Regions from separate parts of the Homo sapiens genome. Here region 1 is linked to region 2. Evidence: promoter capture Hi-C in 16 types of primary human blood cells and fetal thymus (Javierre and others, 2016). All regions are on one chromosome and are shown on one strand. Each heading gives the region's core, a stretch centred on a gene start or on the middle of the fragment in contact. The rest is flanking DNA. Distances are from core to core; before and after follow the strand shown.

Region 1 (6,408 bases), core at 3,326-5,825, 110 kb before region 2:
GTGTATGTATCTGCATGTGCATGTATGCATGTGTGTGTGCAAGTGTGCAAAACATATGCATATGTATATAGGCATTATGTGCTTGCATATATATAGTGTGTATGTTTATATATGTGTGTGCATGAAGGTATATGTGTGTATATTCATGTATGTGTGCAGTGTGTATCTGTAGTGTGTGCAGTGTGAGTGTGTGTGTGTGCACGCATGTAGTGTGGGTGTATGAACAGGGGATAGGAACATCAGGAGGAAACAGAGCTAATAGAATACTTCCAGCAGTAATTGGTGAAGGGAGTCCTAGGAATGGAAAGTAGGGAGCAGGTGCAGGAAATAGTGGAGTTGGAGATCAGGATTTGATGACTGAACAGGGGAGATGAGGGAAGTTGCAGTGGCTTTGAGGTTTCAGGCCTAAATGACTTGGAAATGGTGGTGCTACCGACGGAAATAAGCCAGGTGAGGAGTGCTGGATTGGCCACGATATGAATTTCTTCAGCAGTGAGGAATGTGAGGATGGGTGGAGCCCCCATAAGGAGAGATCTGGATGACCAGTTGTGGTTGAGGGACTGGAAGTGGCCAGAAGAGACTGTGTGAAGACAGCATAGACCAAGGACAGCACCCTGGGGACTGTTCCCACTAAGGGGCCTGGATACGAAAGGGACACCAGCAAGGGTGGGTGGAAGCCGAGAACCAGGCAGCGGAGAGAGCTGCTGATCTCTGCACTGTGGATTACAGGATGGGGTGGCCCAGGGCCACGGGGACACATCTGCTCACCCAGCCTGGGTGGTCCTCCGAGGCTCTCGGAAAAGGAATCAAGCAACAAGAAAGAAGTCAGAACATGTCCTTGCTTCAGTCTGTTTCCCATGAGCCTATGCCAGGCACCTTTACTGGAAACTTCATCTCATAAGTAGAAAGTGGCACAGACCACCTTCCTTACAACCTGAAGATCCACATAGAACCCATGACCACGAAGCCACTCCCCACCACACCAGCGGGCTCTCAGGCTTCGAGTCTCACCTGGAGGTCAGATTTCGCCACCACCCACCAATTCCTCTCTGGGTCTACCTAGCAGCAGCAATAAGGAGATGACCACAGCCGCCTGCACACGAGCCTGCTGCCCAGCAAACCCACTGGATTCTGCTTCCCTGTCTTGTTCAATTTAAGAACTAGAGGTCACTTCAATTTAGCAACTCCTGAAGCCAAGCTGGATGCATCTCGAAGGTCACCTGCAAAACTCCCTGTAGAGACCCCTAAGGCTCTGACTGGCAGGTGACAAGCTGGACCCTGATGGGTGGCAAACATTTCTATGTCCAGAGCAGAAGATTCGGGGACTCCTCTTTGAAATGGCTTTATTCATGGTGCTGAGATCCCAGGACAGATGTCTAAGAAAAACAACTTTCCTTTTTCATGATTTGGAATCCTGGAGTGAACCCATTTCTTACTGTGTCTTGATTCCTGACATAAACTTAATGTTAAGAAAAACATATGACACTAAAAAATGTAACCATGAGGGCAGGCAGTAGTTTTCTTTTCACTCTCAAATCATTTGTTCCTGACATGGGGTAGTTTCCTCTTCTTGCTCTTCCAGAAAGCTTTGTTTGTTCAACATGCATTTTTCTTGGGCTTTGAGAGGCCCACCTGCTACAGACCACAGGCGAAGTAAGAGAAATGAATCCCAGCTTTTTGGGAGGCCAAGGCAGGAGGATTGCTTGAGCTTGGGAGTTTGAGACCAGCCCTGGCAACATAATGAGACTCCATGTCTACAAAACAAAACAAAACAAAGAGCTGGGATAGTGGTGGGTGCCTGTAGTCCCAGCTACTCAGGAGGCTGAGATGGGAGGATCACTTGAGCCCAGAAGTTCAAGGCTGCAAGTGAGCCATAATTATGCCACTGCACTCCAGCCTGGGTGACAGAGGCAGAAGACTCTCGTGAAAAAAAAGAAAAGGGGGGAAGTGAAATGAAAGATGTCTTTTAGAAACCTAAGATTCAGTGTGGAAAGAAAACATACAAATGCGAAAAGCTTCAAGAGGAAGAAATATAAGTATCAACATGAGTGGCTTGGGTAGTGGTGGAATCAGAGTCACAGGCAGAGAGAATAAGGTGGTCAGGGAATGCTTCCTGGAAGAGGAGGACAGGCAAACTCTGGACAGGTAGATGGTAGGAAGAGCCTAAAGGAGTGTCTGGGGTCAGTGGCACAGGGTACAAGGCACTGAAATGAAGGTCCATGTCTGGGAATAGCGAATATCTGGTGCTTGGTAAGGCGGGGGCCAGGAGAGGCTGAGTTGTGGGGCTACTCTTGTAAGAAACAGAGGACCAGTGGGAAGGTGACTAGCCCGGTTTTCTGAAACGAGCTGTCTCGAACCCATTGCAGAGGGAGAAATTCAGGCTGAGACCCCTGGACAGCCACTAGGGAAGCCGGGGAGGAAGCTGAGGCGGGATGGAGAGCGTGGGGATTTGGTCACTAGGTCCTATGAGATGGTGTCCGACATCTGTCCTCACAGTCGCTGCATCATTCCAGGTCCTTATCAGCACTTGCCTGGATTTCTGGCTGCCTGCATGGACCCCGTCCCTCCCAACTCTGTTGCATTTTATTGTCCCTGGTGCCATCTGTCTACAGGCTCATTTGCCCATATTATTCCTTTGCTCAAACCCTTCCAACAGGTCTCCAATGCCTGAGGATAAAATCCAAACTCCTTAATCCAGTAGAAAAGTTTCTTCATGGTCCAGCCCATTTATCTCCTGCCACATTCCTGCCATCTAGGAAATTCTTACCCTTTAGTCTCAAGAACCTCATCCTAATTTCCCATATACACCACTTCTGGCACGCATCTATGTCTTTGCACCAGCGGCTGCAGCTTGCTGTGTCGGAAACGCCTGTTCCCTCCCTACATTGATGGAAATCGCAACAGCCTTCAAGCCTCACTCGAGGGATCCTGAGGCAGGACTGGGCCCTCCAGGGCTAGGGCTATATTTTATATACTTTTAAATATTAAATCTCCACCCATTTATGCTGAACCTGTCTTACATACCTTTAGAGTTTACCTTAACTTTCCTTTTGACAACCTTGAACTTTCACTAAAGAAAAATTGCTAAACCAAGGTGCATGCTAAGGATGAGATAGGCCTTCTTCTGTCATCTCATGCTGCATTTACAAGTGGATTTGTGGGCTTAAAAAGAAAGATGAAAAAGATGTTGGTAACATACAGTATTAAAGTGTAAGTAAAAAACCTAAGTAGAAGAAAGTAATGGTCTTTGTTTAAATAAGTGGTCACCAATGTCAGGTTCTCTTGAACAGAGTCAGACTTAAAATGAACATAGTATGTATTATTGGGAACGTTAAAAAGAATACACTTATGGCTTAAATCCTTGCCTTTTTATATTTATTTATTTATTTGAGATTGAGTCTCATTCTGTTGCCTAGGTTGGAGTGCAGTGGCGTGATCTCAGCTCACTGTAACCTCTACTTCCCAGGTTCAAGCGATTCTCATGCTTCAGTCTCCTGAGTAGGTGGCATTACAGGTGTGCGTGACCACGCCTGGCTAATTTGTCTATTTTTAGTGGAGATGGGGTTTCGACAGTGTTGGCCAGGCTGGTTTAGAACTCCTGGCCTCAAGAGATCAGCCTGCCTCCACCTCCTAAAGCACTGAGATTACAGGTGTGAGCCGTCACGCCAGGCCAAATTCTTGCTTTTTTTTTTTTTTTTTTTTTTTTTTTTTGAGACGGAGTCTCGCTCTGTCACCCAAGCTGGAGTCCAGTGATGCAATCTCGGCTCACTGCAAGTTCCGCCTAACGGGTTCATGCCATTCTCCTGCCTCAGCCTCCCAAGTAGCTGGGACTACAGGCGCCCGCCACCACGCCCGGCTAATTTTTTGTATTTTTAGTAGAGACGGGGTTTCACCGTGTTAGCCAGGATGGTCTGGATCTCCTGACCTCGTGATCCGCCTGCCTCGGCCTCTCAAAGTGCTGGGATTACAGGCGTGAGCCACCGCGCCAGGCCTCAATCCTTGCATTTTTATAAGCAACTTTGTGTTTTACTGGATTCTCAGTTAGCAGATTCTTTTGTATTTTGTGATGAGGACACTCAAAGTGACCTATTCTTAGGCAATTCAAAATTGTGCCAAACGCAATTGTTTTGGCTCCCCCTACAGGTCCTTTTCTAGAATTGCAATTTGGAAAGCTGGATTGCCTCACTAAAAATACTGCTTCACTCAGTGTTGTCTTTGAACCCTATGTGCTAGTTTCAGGATGAGGAATGGATCCACTGCTGTCTATTTTAACTTTCAAAGCTTTCCTCTATGGAAGTAAATTTCTGTTTTTTGGTTCATGTTTAACCTGAGAAACACTGCAAATCTTGCGGCCTTTATGCTTGCACTGGCTGTTATAAACCTTAGGGCCAAATTGTGACCCGCTTCCGATAGCTGTGCATTCTGGCTCTATCTTGTTTTCTAACATTTCATCTCGATACCTGGCCTTTCTCATTTCTTTTCTTTTCTTTTTTGTTCTTTTAAGGATGTGTATTTTTAAAGTCATCTTAACTTCTTTTTCAAAACAAGAATAAATATATATGACTAATGGTTTTTCCTAATTTATAATTTTCATGTATCTCTTCACTTATCTATATGATTTCACTAGTATATACCAGATTATTCAAGTTCGTTTTTTTATATACACCAGAAAATCATGGCATCACTTAAGAAAATTAAGAGTGCATGGGAAAGACAGTGTGGGGTCCACTGTGAAATACCAGCAGCATGAATTTGGACACACCGTGGTCCCCTGGCAGCCCTCATCTCTGAGGAAGGCAGTGGATTCCATGAGGCCTGAGGGTCCACACAGCCTCAGAAGGCAGATTTGTCTAACCGTTCATTACCCAGGAAGCTTCTCTAAGTGACCACCTGGGCTTACCTCTCTCTTTGGGCTGCCAAACATGGGCTCATGGTAGCTGACTCACTCAACAGGCCTCTGTCCTCGAGGGCTCATGCCTTACGACTGTGATGGTCAAAGCCAAGTAAGACCCAGAGCCCTTAAGGATTGATTACTGGGCTGGGCCGATCAGGGAAGGAGACGACAATGGCAGCTAGGGCACAGGAGAGGCTCTGACCCTATGAGGCCCTCCGAAAGATCCTTCTCTGCCTTCTCCGCCATGGAAGGAAGGGCCCTGTCTTTTCAGGGGAACGGCACTGCTTGAACACCAAGGCCGAGCTTTTGGCAAAATGCCTGTGGCTGCAAATATGCTTTCGGTGCTGTTAGAGGTTTAGGGTCCAACTCTGAGGGTCCAGTGAAACTGAGAGTGGGTGCTTGAAGTCTTTCTCAGAAGCACCCTCTACCTCCTAGCTGAGATTCTACTCTGGGCGGGACGGCACCATTCCCTGCTCACAGTGATGCTCTATGTGGGGCTCATCACTCATTTCAGTGCCTCCGGAGAAAGTCTTGGGAATAGCTTGCAGGCATAAACCCCTAGGACACACAGCAGCATTGGCCACGACCCCTTGAACACCTTTCCAACCCTCAGTGCCTATGATTTAATGAACACTTGAGCTGCAGGGCTTCACCGCTCTGATCCCTGAATTTTTCTCCCTTAAAAAAAATCCTGTGGCCAGGTGCAGTGGCTCACGCCTGTAATCCCAGCACTTTGGGAGGCCAAGGTGGGCGGATCACGAGGTCAGGAGACCGAGACGATGCTGGCTAACCCAGTGAAACCCTGTTTCGACTAAAAATACAAAAAATTAGCCGGGCATGGTGGCACGTGCCTGTAGTCCCGCCTACTCAACAGGCTGAAGCAGGAGAATCGCTTGAACCCAGGAGGCGGAGGTTGCAGTGAGCCAAGATCACACCACTGCACTCCAGCCTGGGTGACAGAGTGAGACTCCATCTCAAAAAAAAAAAAAAAAAAAAACAAACCTAACAACCCAATGGAATTATGAGGCAGCAGCTGCCAGCTGAAATGTGCCCTTGATATAAACTCACTGACACATCTCTTCTCATAGCTCCTTGAATCCAGGTTCTCAAAGTAGAAAAAAATCAGCCCTCACCTGTCGTGATGGTCTATGGATCACGGATAAGCCCACCAGGCCCCAGAACTATCCCTGGCTACTTCTTTAGAGAAAAAACTAGCCCTGGCATCCAAATGACTTTTTCCTGAGACGAAGTCTTGAAGCAAATGTCAACAGGCTGGCTTCATTGTCTAGTCTGTGGTTCACTAAACTATGCCACCTTCCTGTTCTAAGGTGACAGGTGTGCAGATGGAACTGCCTTAAGTAAGTTGCTTTATATGGAACTAACGGCTCAACCAACAAATCAAAACAGCAAGACAGGGCTTCATCTGAAGACAAGAAAAAGCCTTTCGTAAGGTCACAGCTTCACAGAGAAAGAGCCCCTGAGGTTGGAGATGCTCAAAAAAGTGCAGGCTGGAC
Region 2 (6,497 bases), core at 1-2,500:
CTCCTATTGGCCTTGACATCCCTGGAATGCTCCTCTGCTCTCCCAGCTTTCTTCACAGGAAGCTCTATGTTTAGTGTCTGTGCTAGGTTGAAGTTGATGGTGATGATGAGGACCCTGGCATTTTTTCCTGTTTTCAGGAAATACCTAATATTTCCTGGTTAAATCTTTAATATTCTAAAAAGAATGGAAACAGTGCTTTCATTCAATAATTTAAGAGAGCAAATGCCTCTTATTTCCTGATAATGGGCCCTACTATTCTCTTCAGGTCTAAACACTGGTGCCAGACCTGTATTCCGGTGGAGTAGAGAGTAACTCATTGCAGGCTTCTAGGTCATTATACCCTCATGAAGGGGCGACTGAGGTAATGGGGTGAGTAGTCTCCTGTAGGGGCCAGAGTGAAGAGGACAATGACCTTATCAGGGTACAGGTGAAATGAGCTCAGTGAGAGAGATAAAGAGTTGTGTAAGGTTCATGAGTTGCTAGGTGCATACACGTGGTCCTTTCTCTCACAGCATGTAAAAAATCAGCTCAACATGGATTGAAGACTCAACATAGACTTGAAAAGACCTGAAACCATACAACTACGAGAAGCACATACAAAGATAAAGCTTTGGACATTGACGTGAGTAATGATTTCTTGGCTATGACACCAAAGGCACAGGCAATAAACAAATGGGAAAATAGACAAGCGGGGCTGCATTGAACGCTAAAGCATCTTCATAGCAAAGGAAACAATCAACTGAGGGAAACGGCAACCCAGAAAATGAGAGAAAATGTTTGCAAAGCCTACGTGGTAGAAGGGGTAAATATCTGAATACATAAGGAAGTCAAACAACTCAATAGCAAAAAACAAACAACCTGATTGAAAAACAGACCTAGGACCTGCAGAGGCTTCTCTCACAATAAAATAATGTTTTAAGAAGCTGTGATCGTCTTTATTGGACATGTCAAGTAGGACACGTGTGTTTGGAAGGAAACTTTTTGAGTTTCTCTATTGACTTAGCTAGTAGCCATTACCCCCAGCAGCCGCCAGACACCCAGATAGAAGTTCACAGCAGGGGCTTCACCCGCTGGGTCCCTCTGGGGTGGCCCCACAGTGAGAGGTCAGACTGGGGACACAGCTTCAATATTGAAACCTCAATGTGAAAGTTTAAGTTTTGTGTTACTTACAGATCCTCAAGCTAGGCAGGGCGAGCAGAGAGGGCAGACAGCAGTCCTGTGTTCCAGGTCTTATGTAGCAAGAGCAGCCATGCACACAGAGGAGAGGACTTCCTTATTTAAGGGTCTTTTGGTATCAGGTGTCCTAATTTTTCAGGGTTACTTTCTATTGGGTACTTTAAATAACTGTTAACAAGGGCAGTTGAGAAATTTGGCAGAAAGCTGGAGTTCAAGCAGGAGTCCACGGAGGTACCGACCCCTCGTCTACTTTGGTCAGCCCTGGCCAGGCCCAGGCAGCAATCAACTATGGATTCCTCATGACTCCTAAGACAATTGACCCCATGATACCTATGCTGGTGGCTGAGGCTGAACTACCTGGACCGAGGGAATATTTAAAGCCACCAGGAGAGCCTGGCCTGCATATTGTTGTATACACCTTGCGAGGAGACTAGGATCAAAATGCCACCCACACACAGATGAGGATTTGGAATGTGGTCTGAACTGACCTCCCCAGGCCCTGGGGTCTAACCATAAAAACAAATCCAAGCCATTCAGACAAGTAAGGTTGGAGAATACCTGGATGAGACTGAATACCGCCTGGGCTTGTGTTGCTGGATAGGGCAGGTTGCAGGCTCCCGAGTAAAGGATGTGCATATAGCATGTGGTTCCCTAGAGGGGACAGTCACCTTTTTGCTTGGCCTTAGATAGTTCAAGCCTAAATGACTGTCTAGGTCATCCAGGCCAAGGACTCATCAAATGATTGCGTGACACCTAATGTCTGTCAGAAGTCCCTTAGGATGGTGGCCAAAGCTGCAGCGAGATTGGTGTTAGCTTGCATCACCTTGTGTTGTGAGCTCAAATACCCTGTTCCCAAACCAATCCCGTAGGCTTACGAGTCTCCCTACACCCAGAGTTAGGAAGATGGTCACTGGGTGGGGGGGATGCATAAGCTTTCCCTTGTGTGGTCCCTCCTGGGTTATTTGAAGGGGAGTCCCAGGGAGACTAGTGCACATTTTAAAATGTACCACTCTCCACCATCCTCCTCCTTGTAGTGAGGTAAACGGGATGAGGTTTCTGGAAATGAGAAAAGAATGCAGTTGTTCCTGAGGGAATGAATACCTATAGTGAGGTTGCTGAACCCAGTATGCAGTCCAGGCAGCCCCTGCCGCCATGGGAGGGCCGTGCACAGCGCTGGTCCAGCAGGCTGGGTGCTCAGGGCCTCCCCTGCAGCTCTGCGTGAAGGCAGCAGGCACTGGGCTATGGAGGACTGGGGGCAGCGGCGCTCTCAGTCTTAAGGAGGGAAGAGGCATCTCAAGCCTCGCTAGGGGTGGTCGCTGTTCCAGAGCAGTGAAGTCGGCTGCCCCTATGAGGAAGCAGTGAGTTCCTGATCTGTTGCAGGCCCAGCAATTTCACCTTTGGAGGAAGTGGGCACTGGACTCATTCCAGCAGAGGAAGAAATTAGGGCTATTTGGGGAACTGGGCCCCAGATGATGGTTTTAGGTTCTAGGGCATTAGTAGGTGCCTGAAGGGCCCAGTGGATATGGATGTAGAGGCAAAATGAGAAGGGGTGTGTGTGCACGTGGGGAAGGTCTGGTGGTTGTGGGGATGTCCAGTGTCCTGCAGAAGTGAAACCTGGACCAGCCTCCTGCACACAGAACACACTCCAATCCATAGGCATTTTCCTAGTAACATAGGAGAGAGCTGTTATTGGCAGAGCTGGTTAGATTTGGGTGTGATATTATAACAGACAGGTCTTCCAAGTCCATATTTTTTGGCATAACTTGTAGGGCAGCCTCCTGATCTGATCCAAGCCTTGTGGTTTCCTTGCAGTAGGCGGTTTAACTAATGGGTTACACTGAAGACAAATGGGGATCCCAGCAAAATACCATTCTAAGGGGTCATCTGCAGGGTCCTCAGGAAAGCATGAGCTAAGAAAGCACGGGTCCAGGTACTGGACGTGAGCCAACTCCATGTCCCGGGGGTGGTGAGATCCATACCTTGCGGCAGGAAGGAGAGTAAGGTGAGTCTGGTTTGGGGATGACCCCACAGTCAAGATGAGATTCCTTGGTGTCTCTGGTTCTGGTGAGGCCACTGTTTCCCAGGACAAACCCTTGGATCAGAGCACTGTCTTCTGAGGTGATGGCCTTTCGGGTAGGGGTGGCCTTTCCAGCTGGTCACTCAAGAAGAGAGAGGGTATGGGCTGGTGTTGCACAGGCCTCTGGCCTCTGTGGGACTCCATGGAAGCGTTTAGTGAAAGCTTGAGTGGTGCTTTCCTTGGTCGGGGGATAGGACATTTCCATCCACAACTCACATACTTTGGAGCACAGAAGTATCCCTAAGCCCATGAACGTGTTTGAATGCTTTCTCTGCATGTGAGGCTCCAACCTTTCCGGCCACAGACTGAGTTTGTGCTGAGGCATCATTAGCTGGTTTGTATTCATGCCTGGTCATGGGGAGGGCCACCTGCCTCTGATTGTGGGGGTTGCTGGTGTTTAAGCTTTAGTGCCATGGGTCCCATTCAATATCTAAGGATCGGGTTTCCTGGCTTGGATCCAGGTCAGGTGGCATTTGGGGTTTTGCCCCTCTAGCACATTGCCTCAACATGCCACAGTTTTCCAGCCTGGGGTTCAATTTCTCACAGTGGCTGTCCTGTTCCAGCAGCTCTCTGGGATGCCAGGCCCCAGGCCTAAGAGCAGCCGTACAACATTTACATACATAAGATACCCAGCAAGGCCAAAGATAGAGAGCACTGACAGCTTATAACTCAGGGATTTCCTCAAGGTACTTTTACGTCGATATTGATTATGGGGTGGGCTTTCACCAACATTTCTTCAGAGCATTTTTCTGCAATCGACACAGGACATGGTGATGGTAGTTCCATGTGGTCTTTGTCTGATGTAGTTGGCGTCCTCTAGTTTGATGGCTTTTTCTCCTCATTTAGTGACCCAGACTGTACCCTCTTTGGGCTGCAGAGAAACAATCCCCACTTCCTTCAGGGAGGAGTGAGTGGGAGATATTAGCTACCTTTCAAAGCAGGAAGAACTGGAGCTTCTGCTGGAGGCTGTATGTCAAGAGGTGAGGTCTGGTGTAGCAGAAGCATCTTAGGGCTGCTCTGTGGCAGCTGCCTGGACCATCAGTCCCCAGAGGATCACAGCTCACTATCTGTATTAGTCCATTTTCATGCTGCTCATAAAGACCTACCCGAGACTGGGTGATTTATGCAGGAAAGAGATTTCATGGACTCACAGTTCCACATGGCTGGGGAGGCCTCACAATCATGGTAGAAGACAAAAGGAGCAAGTCAAGTCTTACGTGGGTGGCAGCAGGCAAAGAGAGAGCTTCTGCAGGGAAACTCCCTATATAAAACCATCAGATCTTGTGAAACTTATTCACTACCATGAGAACAGCATGGGAAAGACCTGCCTCCATGATTCAATTACCTCCCACCAGGTCCCTCCAACACATAGGAATTCAAGATGACATTTGGGTGGGAACACAGCCAAACCCTATCACTGTCCATCCTCGATCGAGTCTTTAGTAAATGTTTGATGCTGAGACAGTGGACATCTTGTGATGGTATGAGGGGGTCTCATTATTGCAGAAAATGTGGGTGATGGTATCCATAAGGGAAAAAGAGCTCAACTCTTCTGTGATCACCAGGGTGGGTGCCATGGTTGGTCTGGTCCAATTGTAGAAGAGCTGGTGGCCATGGTGTTGAGAATTAAGATAGTTAAGGCTCTCAAAGGAGCTTGGTTCCCTTGATGAACCACTTGTAGGGGGACTGGAGCCTTTCCTAATTTGACTTAGTCTGTGCTCATGCCACAACTTTAATAAGCATGACTTTAGGAGGCCACTGTGTTGCTTGAGGAGGCCAGTGGCTAAGTGAGGGTCCCCTAACCCCCATGCTGAGTTGCCCAGCACCACCCTGAAGTGGGAGCCCTGATCTGCATCAGTGATATCTGGTGGTTCACAAGAGGTAATAGAGCAAATGTCACAGAAAGAGAGCACCTTTCTCTACCAAGAGCCTTGGGTTGGAAGAGTCAATGGAAGTGCGGTGGATGTGTGTCTGCTCCTGCACAGCAGAAGGTGGTGGCTGTGATGGGAGAGGCCCAGTGAAGTCCATTTGCCACCAGCTGAAAGGGTGATGGCCCAGGAACAAGGGATTGCTGGCCACAGTTTTGCTTGCCTGAAGCTATGGTGGGAGACAGCTGTGGTGTGGGTTGCCCTCTAATGTGGCTGTAGCTCTCATGATCTGGGGCTGTAGGACTCCACTCTGTCAGCACCTGAGGAATACAGAACTTGAGATTCTGGAGTCTGTAAAAATAAGAGGATCTCACCCAAGCCCTGGGAGGTGCATCTGACCGCTAACCTCCTGGGGACAGGACATCAGGGGCTGTCAGCAGGCTCAGTCTGGAGGCCAAAGATGGCAGTCGTCTCACTGTGGATGCCTCACCCTTCGAGTGGTGGAAAGTAGCCTGGGCATGTTTGTTCTGAATGCATGAGGCATGAATCACCTATAGGAGGACTGGAGTGTCCCCTAATTTGACCCAAACAGGTCCACGCCACAGAGGCCATTCCAGAGGCATTGGATCCAGGGCACTCACAATATGTTGGGCACAGCCCAGGAATCTGTAAAAACTGTCCCCGAGTGGGGGTTATGGCCACAGCAACCTCCCCTGCAACCGGCACCACCAGCTGTATGGCTGGGCTCAGCATACCCTCCCCTCCTATGCAGGCCCTGCTGTGATAAATGTGGGAGGTGGTTGCCGGCCAGTGGGCTCCCGGCCTGCAGGGCAGTGCTGCCTTCCCTGAGGTATGTGGACTCCCCATGTCCAACTCTTCCCATGGCCTCATCAGGTCACCAATTGTTCGGGCAATAGGGTCGCTGCTGCTATTTCTCTCTGCTTGTAGGCAGGAGCTGAATAACAGGGAAACCATGGCCTCAGCTTCCTGTCACTTGAAAGGACTTAAGTGCCAGGTTTGCCTTGTCCTACAAGTGCTGTTCCCATTTTCCCAGGGAGACATGAATGGCTGAGCCTCTGTCAGGAGGAGTCAGACATGGGGCATGGCTGGAGTCTGGGGACACAGCAGCACCGGAACCTGTCCTGTAGTGCCTATGTCTATACGGGCATTGTGTGTAGTGGTAGCCAGCTTTTTAACGGGGGATAATGAGCTGCAGCTGCCAGGAAGTTTATGCCTGCAGAAGCCCATAGCCAGGATGGACGTGCTTTCTCCAGAGGCTCTGGGAGTCATGATTGGTGGTACTGAGGGCCTCTATATGAAACTCAGAACCCGGGACCTGGGCATGGCCTGAGAGACCACCTGCTGAGCCAGCTGCA

What was found. Contacts are between HindIII fragments. The CHiCAGO score rates a contact against its expected background, and 5 or more counts as called.
Region 1: a fragment that was not itself captured here is called in contact with the fragment with the promoter of DEFA4 in region 2 in 1 of 17 cell types (monocytes); the score reaches 6.5 in monocytes.

The regions. Positions count from the first base shown.
Region 1 is chr8:6,826,145-6,832,552 of GRCh38, forward strand. All of the region lies in intron 2 of XKR5 (XK related 5), which reads right to left. Among named protein-coding and RNA genes, the nearest start is that of XKR5, 6.2 kb to the right of the region's middle. The HindIII fragment of the contact is 592 bases long and covers 4,280-4,871 here.
Region 2 is chr8:6,937,056-6,943,552 of GRCh38, forward strand. It overlaps DEFA4 (defensin alpha 4), which reads right to left and starts at 1,251. Exons shown (of 3, transcript NM_001925.3): 1 at 1,171-1,251. RefSeq lists a silencer at 987-1,056. The HindIII fragment of the contact is 1,500 bases long and covers 607-2,106 here.